Regions from separate parts of the Homo sapiens genome. Here region 2 is linked to region 1. The links are contacts of gene promoters, found by promoter capture Hi-C in blood cells and fetal thymus (Javierre and others, 2016). All regions are on one chromosome and are shown on one strand. Each heading gives the region's core, a stretch centred on a gene start or on the middle of the fragment in contact. The rest is flanking DNA. Distances are from core to core; before and after follow the strand shown.

Region 1 (5,544 bases), core at 1,052-3,551:
TCCACATGACACCCTAAATTCTCTTCAGTTTAGTGAAGGTTTTTTTCATTACATATTCCTTGCAATTTTGCATTAAATGGACCAGCCAAAAAAAGTTCATGGTTTAAAAATTGGGTGGGCCACCTTCTTCATTTTTAGGGCCAACTGTCCAGTGCCAGTTTGGGCTCAAAAAAAGTTTACTCTTGGAGGCTTGACTATCTATGCAAGAGTGCCCCCATTGTATACTATACTTGTTTACTCACCACATTTTCATGCTCCACCAGAAAGTGGTCAAAATTGGAACACGAAAACTCTCCACCTCACTAACACCTAACTTAAAACTATCAGATGCATTCAGACAGCCAGTCTGTGTGGGAGGCAGGCTATTTCTGGGGCAAAAATATTTCCTGGAACCACTGTTTCTGGCCCCAGACATGGCTCATTCTCCGCAGACCTCCAGATTCCTCTCCTCTACGTTATGGAGGTGGAGCCACTACAACTGATAACGCATATCCATTTCCTTCTCTTAAAATTTGCAGTCCATACACCATATCCAAGTTAGGATTTCAAATTGTTATACTGTTTTGTGACTCTTTAGGCTAAAGTGTGCAGTTTCCAGACTTTCAGAATTCCCCTTCCAATATTAAAAATATGGTGAAAAAAGCCCAGTTTGAAAGAAAATAAACTTTACAAAAATACCTGAAAACAAGATCAAATACTAAGTCTCTTGCCAAAGTCTTGGAGAAAAAAAAAATGAAAGAAACGTTTAAAAATGGCAAAAGCTAACCAAAAACCTTAAGATTAAAGTATCACACCTGAAAAGTAGTCTCAAAGCAAGGAGGATATACTATTAACAAAGAAAGCAACCGAAAACTACAAAATATTTAATATTCACCATGAATTTCAAAATTACTTGGCATGTAAAGTACACACTGAGATTAATAAATTGTTCCAGATTCTGCACTGCCCAGGTTAGTATAAGGCAGTTCCTTGTTTTCGCCACGCTAAAAATAAGAAGGGTGACAGATTAGTGACAGAATGATCCCTGAAGTTACACAAGGAGGTGCTGAGTTAGAAAGCCATGACTCGAAGGACAATACCAGAATGCTGGCTGTCAACACTGGGCAGATAAAAATAAGAAAAGCTGAAGCATGCTGATGGAGCACGGTATTGTTTCCAGACGGGAACTATCCCTTAAGGCCCATGCCTTAAGCACCCACTCCGCCGTGTTGGGATCAGAAAACTCGACTGCCGCCTGCTCAGAGGGGGCAGGGCAGCGACCCTCCTTCCACCTCCTCCAGCGCGCGAGCCGCCGCCCCCTCCCGAGCCCGCTCCTCCGGCCGCTAGCTGACATCTCCCCGCCAGCCGGGCTAGCCACCCGAGACCCCTGAACGCCCTTCCAGGACCCGACGACCCCTCAGCACAGCGCCAAGGGAAGGAAGCAAAGGACAGGGGCCTGGAAGCGGGGCCCGAGGGGCGGGTGGCGCGCTGGGCTTCGGCCCGTCACCATCAAGACTTGAGGACCGCGCGAGCTCGGGAGGAAGGCGGCTGAGCCTCCGCCACCGGCCGACTGATGAGAAGGGGTCGCGGCTGACCCCGGCCCTCAGGTACGGGAGACTGCCGGGAAAGTCGCCGGCGACGGAGGGCGACGCGTTGGCCCCGGAGCCCCCACCTCCATCCCGACGACCGCTCTCCTCCCTCGTCCCGATCCATCCTCGAAATTCTGTCAGAACTCGACGACCTCCACACTGCCCACCCGAGCGCGGAGGTGATGCCGCTCTTACCGTAGGAGCGAGCGCCGCGCCGCTAGGAGGCGGCTGAGGTGCGCGCGGGAGACTCCGAAGCTAGCGCCGCCGCCAACAGAGCCCAAGGAGCCACAACGAGGCTGCCCGCGGGCGCGCTGCCTCCAGAGGGTTGCCCCACCCCCTCTCCCGCAGGATTTTGCGCCGGAGCCTGCAGTCACTGCGCGCGGGCAGGGAGGATGGGAGGAGGGGCGGGGCGTCCCGAGAGGGCGGAGCTGAGCGCCGGCTGCTCTGATTAACATCTGTGGGCCCAATGGGAGCACGGAAACTCCAGGCTGATCTTGGACTGACTTCCCTACTAACCCGTGACAGTAGAGAGGCGGGACCAATGGGTCTTTTTATTGCCGCCTTTCTGTCGAACCCGAAAGTAAGGAAAGGTCGGTTGGTTTGCACTGGCGGACAAATGGTCCAATTACCGCGGAAAAGGGACCTCTGAATCCAGATTGGCGTCCTCTCTACCTATAGGGTAGGCTCAGGGGCGGTGAGAACCAGCCCCGGATGTGGGCGCGGCACTGAGGTAGAACTGAGAGATCCTCTACCGCAGTCGTTTGAGGAGGCGGAACTGAAGTTTTTTCTTAATTATCATGTGACGGGTTCTGGATTTAATGGGGGGAAAAGGGCGGAAAAGGACAAGGATCCAAACTGGCGAATTTGCTGATCTTCGCGTCCCTCTCCGCTTTCCGGCCGGCAGCGCTGCCAGGTGAGTCTGGGGCTCTGCCCTAGCCCGCACCGTACGCCGGCGCTGGTCTCCTGATGCTTCCGTGGGCTGTGCGGCCGACCCTCAACCCATCACACAGCCAGCCCCAAACGCGCACACGCCTGCTTGGCTCCAGGGCTTCTGTGCGCATCCAGCAGGAACCGTGTTAAACTCCAGCATGTGCTGGGCTTACAGCCCATGAAAGGGGAGCGTCCCGGTGGGGCGCCGCGAGCCGACTGTCGGTGTTTGCAGAAGGGCAAGTATAGTTTAGGAGCGTCCTGAAGTTCCAGGGGCAAATAGGCCCCCAGATGAGCTAAGTTGTAAGCAGAACGCTGTTCCTTTGGCCAAGGCTGTTGCTGCACGGGCTTTTCAAAAGCGACTCATTATGAAGAAGAATAAATATGTGGGCTCATGAAGCAAAATTATCTTTGGGATGAGGCAGGTTCACTTGGTAGACTACTGGCAGTGGCGAGAGAAGGGAAATGGGGGCTGATACCCAGCCGTGGGCTATGTGGGTGGGGCTCTATATATGTCCATACAGGGGTAACTCCGAAGGTTTTAAAAATGAGTAAGGAATCATTAACAAATATTTAACTGTCTTCCTAGTGCCAGAAATAACCACCTTAAATGGGAAACATTTTAGTTGAGCACATTTTTGGAGTACGCACCTCCCCCTTTCTTGTGGAGAGAATAGTAGGAAACATAACGACTGCTCAAATTGATGAAGACGTAAATGTAAAACTGGGATCGTATGTCATCGTTGTAGCTCAGCATACAGGCGTACAATCCTTCAATCGTCATTTAAGTATCAGCAGTGCTTCCCCATTGAGGGTATTTCCGTGCAAGAACATAACAGAATTTTGTTGCATCCCACATTATAAATCTTGTAGGCACAATAAGATTGTTACTTGCATCCTTTCACCTCCAGCCCTAAAGCACCTGTGGTAAGTACAGCCAAATGTAAGAAAAAAATGAAGCTTGTCTTATCCGATAGCAGATGGAACAGTTAGGTTTAAGCAAGTGTATAATCATAAACCGTTTTTCAGAGGTTCACAAAAACGGCCTGATAGATTGGAGGTGGGGATTGTGCAATTTACGGGATGAAATCCATCCATGGTTATTAATCAACACACACCCCTCCAACCCTGCTTCCAAATTCAGTCCCACATCCCACTCTATGGCAGCCTCTGGCCGGGAAAGGAAACCAACACAGAAAAATGCCTCCTTAGAAGCAAAATTACTGCAGTATGAAGCCTTTGCCAATTAAGTAAACAAGTTTAAGTGCCACTAGATGGGTATAAGGGAAAAGAGGTGAGTTAGGAGACTAATACTTAACTGTTGAAATAGAACAGATGTGTCCTCTTGCACTGTGATAGCCACCCACTATTTAAAGTAGTAGAGATGTTGCACAGTACATCAAAGTTAGTTCTAAAATATAATTGAGCACGCTAATCTAGGGTATTTGGCTCAATTAGCCAGTTCCTTCACCTTTTCCCTGTTATCTTCCTGCATCTTTCCTCCTACCACGCATGCTTTTGTTCCTATCCCTAGCACCTTCTGATCTTTTTCTCTTTCCATCAAGTATCCTCTCTCATCTTCAGTGTCATTCCCCATTGGCTTATTTCTGTTTATAGTCATAAATTCTTCCTTTCCTGAAAATTTCTTCTTTCAGTTTCATATACCCTATCTTTCATTTTTCTCTTCTCCAAATGCCTCAAAGGAATAAAATGTTCTCAATTGTTTCCATTTCTTGGTCTTCTGTTAACTCCTTACCCAGCTGCATGCAGTCTGGCTTCTGATTTCCCATTCTACTTATCCTTTTTCCAAGTGGCCATAAAGGTTGGTATAAAAAACTTAAGTAGAGGAACATATCATAAACCTATATGTGAAGATTAAATATAATAAATGCTATCCCAAGCTAAGTTTTATGCATTCATAATCAAAATTCTAGGTTTTCAAGAATCAGCAAATTTAGCATTGAAAAACTGTAAGGGCAAAATAGAAAATATTCTAGAAAAGAGGCCGGCGTGGTGGCTCAAACCTGTAATCCCAACACTTTGGGAGGCTGAGGTGGGTGGATCACTTGAGGTCAGGAGTTCGAGATCAGCCTGGCCAACATGGTGAAACCCCATCTCTACTAAAAATACAAAAACTAGCTGGGCGTGGTGGCGCACACTTGTAATCCCAGCTACTTGGGAAACTTAAGTGGGAGGATCACTTGAACCCGAGAGGCAGAGGCTGCAGTGACCTGAGATCGTGCCACTGCACTCCAACCTGAGTGACAAGAGTGAGACTCCGTCTCAAAAAAAAAAAAAATTCTAGAAAAGAGAACAACGAGTAGATACTAGGCCTTCCAGATATTAATACATTCCTAGAGCAACACTAAGTCATATAGTATTAGTGCAAAAGAGAAACATATAGATCAATGAGGCAGAATAGTGATATAAGAAATAGCCCCCAAAATTTAGCATCTAATAATCACAAAACATCAAAAGTTTATTAGGTGGTCCTGATTATTGAATGGATAACAAGTAGCTTAAAAAAATACATATATACACCACCAATCAGTGAGACTATTGTTAAAAGGAAAAAAACTATTATACCAAGAAAGATATTTGTAAGAATTTTTATGAGAAAATAAGTGAGAATTTAAGAATATGTTTCAAATTATATGAAAATCCAGTGTTATCAGTGCCTTTTATATTATATAGCCCAACAACCTCTTTACAATCTTTTTTTTTTAGACAGTGGTCTCACTCCCATCGCCCAGGTTGGAGTGCAGTGTGCAACGGCTCACTGCAGCCTCAACTTCCCGGGTTCAGGTGATTCTCCCACTTCAGCCTCGCGAGTAGCAGGGAATACAGGCACGTGCTACTGCACCTAAATTTTTTGTATTTTTAGTAGAGACGGGGTTTCGCCATGTTGCCCAGACTAGTCTTGAACTCCTGGGCTCAAGAGATGCACCTGCCTTAGAGTCCCAAAGTGTTGGGACTGTGGGTGTGAGCCACTGCACCCAGCCACTAAAATATTAATTCTACTTTATATTCTTGTGATTTTTATTAACCA
Region 2 (5,544 bases), core at 1,491-3,990, 2.8 Mb before region 1:
TTTGTGTTAGATATTTCATGTCTATGTGATTATAAAACCTCTCCCAAGCTACAGAGGTTGAATATTGATTAGTTTTAGCCACAATTCTCCTTGATAATGAGATGTATAGCAAGCATATAACAAAATGCTGACACTGAGGCATAAAAACAAGTCAGCTACAGAGCTGTAGTGATAGTTTTCTGTTTTAAAAGACTGAAACAAGACAGAAACTTGTTTCTTACTGTTGTTAGGCATTGTTATATAAAGACATGATCCTTACAATCGCCGTAGCCACTTTGCACTTGTAGGGTAACAGTAAGAAAAACCAACCTAGAGCCCTATGAATTAAGTAATATCAGTGAGCCTAAGGATGATTCCAAGCTGGTTAATTCAGTCTGTTGACTCCTTATTATATGAACAAAATAAAAAGTACCCAAGAAACTGCTTCTTTTGGACTTTGTTACTTGCAGGCAAAATCATCCCAACTGATAACAACTGGAGACTTAAGAAAATGTTTGAGATTTATTTTCATAGTATTTGTCAAATAATAACTTTCCTCTAGAGAAATCACTTTAAAATACTGGACTGTCATACCATCTTGATAACACAATTATCTGCTCAAATTGCGTGTGTGTGTGTGTGTGCGTGCAGGCACACACACACACACACACACACACACAGATGGTCCCCAACTTACAATGATTCAACTTACAACCCTTCAACATCACAATGGTGTAAAAGCAATATACATTCAGTAGAAACCATAGTTCAATGCTAGATTTGATTAATTACATGACATAGTCCACATTTTATTCTAAAATATGCTCTGTATTAGATGATTTTGCCCAAATGTGGGCTAATGTAAGTGTTCTGAGCACATATAAGATAAGCTAGGCTGAGCTATGATATCCAGTAGATTAGATGTATTAAATGCATTTTTACAATGATATTTTCATATTTTTAACTTACACTAGCTTTATTGGGATATAACCCTAACAAAAAGTCAAGGAATATCTATAGAATCAACTCTAAAGAACAAAGAAATACAACAAGATCTCCTATTGCCTGGAAAGATAGATTTCTTTAAAGGAAGAAAGTGTTATCTGTTAAGGCTATAAAATCAAATCAAAATTAAATCAAAATTCAAAATAAAATTAAGTCCAAGCTTCTATCCTTCCTAAAAACAGAATTATCCTGACAAATGAAAAGTGAACTATAAAATTAACCAATCTGAAACAAAGAAAGCTATCATGGAAACCAAGAAAGACTCTTCCATTTGTTTTGGTAAGACTATTAGAGAAAACTCCAAGAGTTTTCATGAAGCTTCCCGCCTTAGAATATTTTGGGAGAAATTCTGAAGAGTAAAGAAATAATACAACTTCAAGTTGTGAGTTAAGAGAAAGGAAACGTACTAAAGAACTAACTTATTCATTCAAACACTAACTGACCTTTAATCATACTCCAGGCTTTGAGCATGGCGCTGGCATGCAAAGATGAATAAAATATGGTCTTGAATAGATTGTGATTTTGTTGATAGGAGATAGATTGTAAAATAACAGAAGGGCTTCAATGGATGAATAGATATTTTCTAATCACAGAAGATGGAAAAAGGGCAATAGAAGCAGAAAGAACAACATGCATAAATTCAGAGGCAAAAAGGAAGTGATATGCTTGCAAATGTACAAAAATGGTTTTCAGGGAAGTTGCAAAAAGTGAGGAAAACAGGTGGATACCAGACCTTGAAGCCCCCTGCATGATATTCTAAGGAGATTGAACTTTATTCTGTAAGCAGAATAGAACAATTAAATAATTATAAGTTGGAGGAGTGACAGGATACGAGTTTGTACTTTTAAAAGGTCACATGAAAAGCAATAAATTGGGTTGAGAAATTCAGCTCGATGACTAATAAATGAATGCGGGAAAGACACAAGGCCCTGAACTAAAACTTGTATTCAGCCTGATGAAGGGAATGTGGTCTCATTCTAGGCAGAGTTTGGATTAACGGGAATGTGCTTGCAGTTTGTAGTGGCAGCCATGGCAAAGAGGGCTGTAAAACTGGAAAGCAAGCCCTAAGAGTCATTATCACAAGTGGGAGAAATACTTTTGGTTAGCTTTCATCTTGGTGGCATTCTGGAACATAACAGCAGGGGTAGACAGAAGAGAAGTAATGAAAACTGGATACGCCCCTATGCAAGCAGAGGGGAAAAAAACACAAAAGGTCAAAGGAACAAAGGACTTAGCATTTCTTTTATATTGGCATTCGTTGAAGCGACAAATACAGTATAAAGCTAACAAGTAGCAGAGCAAATAACAAGGGCACCCACAGTTTTCAACTGATATCAGGAAATATTTAATCCCCCAATTTCCCACTTCACATTATAAACTGGGGTATTGGAATTGGGGTCAGGAACTCAGATGTGGTTTCCAAGGAAGGGCAGAATCGGGGAAGTACTTCAGTGTCATGGTGGGGAATTTGAGGGAAAGATGGAGCCGCGAAGAAGAAGCAAAGATTAAGATACAGAGGGCACCCCTGCAAAAAAATCACAGACTAATGTACAAGAGACATTGATAATTTCATTTTTATTCTGGAGTCAGGAACTGGACTCAAGTAAAGAAGAACCTTACTAGGAAGAAGGAATGAGTAAACTAATTGTATAAACCTGCTTTTTAGTGAACATATATATAGATTCTCTTGTTGGCCAGTGGGTGTATAAAATATAAATACATTATGATGGTCTAAAAATGTAGGATAAAGAGTGAAAGAGAACCTATGTCTAAACCCAGTGGAAAACAAGGAGGCTCTCCAAGAAAGAATCTGGGTAGTTTTTGCAATTAAAAACAGTCACCATTGTTTCTCCACAATACGGATGTGCTCTGGAGAAACAAACATTCGATGTAAACAAAAAAGAGAATGATGCCCATTTTATTCTGGTATAATTTATACAAGTAGTTTAAGAATATCTGTGATGTGTTAAGAGTTTGTGGAAAAACATCAAGTACAGGAATATTTCTAGTAAGAAAGCTGATTGGCATTAATGCTCTTTTATTTTCATTTCAAATAGACAACTGCTGCTAAGCCGGGCATACAAAATATCCCTTTGACTTTCAGAAAAATAATAAATGTTTATCTGTAACAACTTTTCAGATAGTATTATTACAAAATATAGACACCCAAAAGCACATTAGCTAATTATATGCATTTGGTTCTGTATAAAATATACTCCAAAAGTACTATATTAACTTCCCAAGTAACTGGTAGATATTTTATATTTATTGATAATATTTACCTTTTATTACTGTTAACAAGGAATCAACTCAGTTATCAGGATCCTACTCTAATTTGACTTTTGAACTATTCAAATTTAAGAATCAAAACTGCTGACTAGACTTAAATAAACCCCATCTCTTAGGCCCCTGACAAGCATCTCTCATCCGTAAAAGATTCAAGCCTCTTTGTCCCATTAAAAGTTAAAATTTTTCACTGTGATTTTTACTTCTTAACTACAGTTTCCTGTTCAGTAAATTATTTCTGGCTCACATAAAACAGAGCTGCATGTTTTATTCCAAAATAGGAAAGATGAAGTAGGATCTTGTGAAAAGATAGACCTTAAGGAGAAAGAGAAGAATGAATATCTTTCTTGGTTTAGATGATATCTTCAAGAGTAACTAAAGGAAAAATCTCCATAAAGTAGAATCAAAGTAGCTTATTAACAAGATACTATGATAAATACAGCAGTGGTTAAAACACACTATTTCTCTTGTATTGCCTTTATCATATTTTAAGAGCAACCCTCACCTCCCTGCAAAAAGAAAAAATAGAGAAACTTAAGTTTACATATGGCACTGAAACTTTGAATTTATCATGCAGCTCATGTTTAAAAAGCATATATGTATAATGTAAAGAAAGTAATACAATTATGAATATTACAAATGTCTTAAATATTACATTACCATAAAGAAAAGATACTTTTTCTTTGTGTGACTCATGGAATCAAGTTTATTTATAGCCTTATCTCCCCTCCTCTCTCTACTACTACTTCCTCTACAGATTTATGAGAAGTTACAAAGTAGATTATTAGCATGGGATGTTTGTCAATATTTCTACTCATTTTGAATCCATATACTACCTAAATATATGGAATATTATTCAATCACAGACTTGAATCACTTACTAGATTTTTTATTTAAGCAAAGCTTATGATGAAAGTTTATCTGAATTCTTAAAAAATGCTTAGTGGATATAAAGTGTTCTCACCACAAAAATAATAACTATGTGATATAACACACATGTTAAATAGCTAGATTGAGCCCATTCCACAATGCTTATACATTTAAGACACAGTGAATACATACAATTATATCTGTCAATGTGGAAAATTAAAGAAATAAAAACAACAAAAGAAAGTATATGGTTGAATAATAGAAAAAGTCAGATTATCTCTTCTATTTCAGGTGGTATCTGGAATATCTAAATAGAAAGTTGAGTATATATATTTAACCACATTTATATAAGTTCCACAGAGGTGCATATTTTCAGAAATACTTTTTAAGATAATTCCCAACTGCAGGATTCTACAATCTGATTAGCATGCTGTTCATCTACATAGTAAGTAGAAAGACCCCTTAATTTCTTCATAAGAAGCTTTGAGTTATTAAAATTTCATTTCATTGTATTTTATATATGCCAAAGGCATAATTTTTTCATTTATATAACAAATTAGTTTTTATGGTATATGTGCAAAGAAAAGAATAAATGCCCCCAAACAATTTGTGCACATTATCATTTTTATACAGGGACTGATCTCCTGTGATTTTTCAGGTTGCTAGCATAACAGGAATGATATTTTATATTACAGGACTCAGTGTATTGAGCATATTATAGAACTTAAGAAGGACATTCAAAAGAATCTCATTTCAACAATCATCAAAGTAGTGGAAATTGGATTTCAGGTGTGCACGTTTAATTACTGAAGTAACAAAGAACTTTGTACTGTAAAGAGAAAACAGCCCATCACCCAGGAGCTGGGCTGATATTATTAGCTAGGTCTTGCTGTTTCTGGGCACAGGCCCAGCACTCACTGCTTGGCCTTGGTGTTTGTTCTGCTGAACACAAACAATTCATAGAGCATTTACTTTAGATAAAATCATTCTGTGATCATGATGAGTCAAGACAAAATGAGACCTTTTATGTCTGAACCCAAAACGATTATCAACACTGTCCAAGCCACAGATACTACACATTCCCTTCTCACTTACTATGAGTGACTCTGCTTCTTTATCAATTACAGCTTTAGCTTCAGTCTAGTCTTCCCTCCTCCAAGATTAAGACACCCAATCATAAAATTATCCTGCCTCCTGACAACATCTAATTCAGAGCAAATCTCTATTTCCTTCAGTATCACCTCCTCGACCCTCCCCAACCAACCAACCGAAGTCCAAATTCTAGAATAGATTTTTCCTAACATCTTCTTACCGGGTCACTGTCAGTTCCCTATGGTACACTTTCCTCTCTTTTCAATGAGTAATGAACTTGTTTCACTACAGGTGTGTTCCTGTTGGTCTTTG

Evidence for each region. Contacts are between HindIII fragments. The CHiCAGO score rates a contact against its expected background, and 5 or more counts as called.
Region 2: a fragment that was not itself captured here is called in contact with the fragment with the promoter of TMEM60 in region 1 in 1 of 17 cell types (M1 macrophages); the score reaches 6.2 in M1 macrophages.

The regions. Positions count from the first base shown.
Region 1 is chr7:77,795,191-77,800,734 of GRCh38, reverse strand. It overlaps TMEM60 (transmembrane protein 60), which reads left to right and starts at 2,301. Exons shown (of 2, transcript NM_032936.4): 1 at 2,301-2,481. It overlaps PHTF2 (putative homeodomain transcription factor 2), which reads right to left and starts at 1,962. Exons shown (of 19, transcript NM_001395272.1): 1 at 1,764-1,962. RefSeq lists a silencer at 1,882-2,021 and an enhancer at 2,432-2,541. The HindIII fragment of the contact is 8,213 bases long and covers 1-3,457 here.
Region 2 is chr7:80,611,537-80,617,080 of GRCh38, reverse strand. It overlaps a transcript of CD36 not described here. Among named protein-coding and RNA genes, the nearest start is that of CD36, 24 kb to the left of the region's middle. The HindIII fragment of the contact is 2,871 bases long and covers 1,305-4,175 here.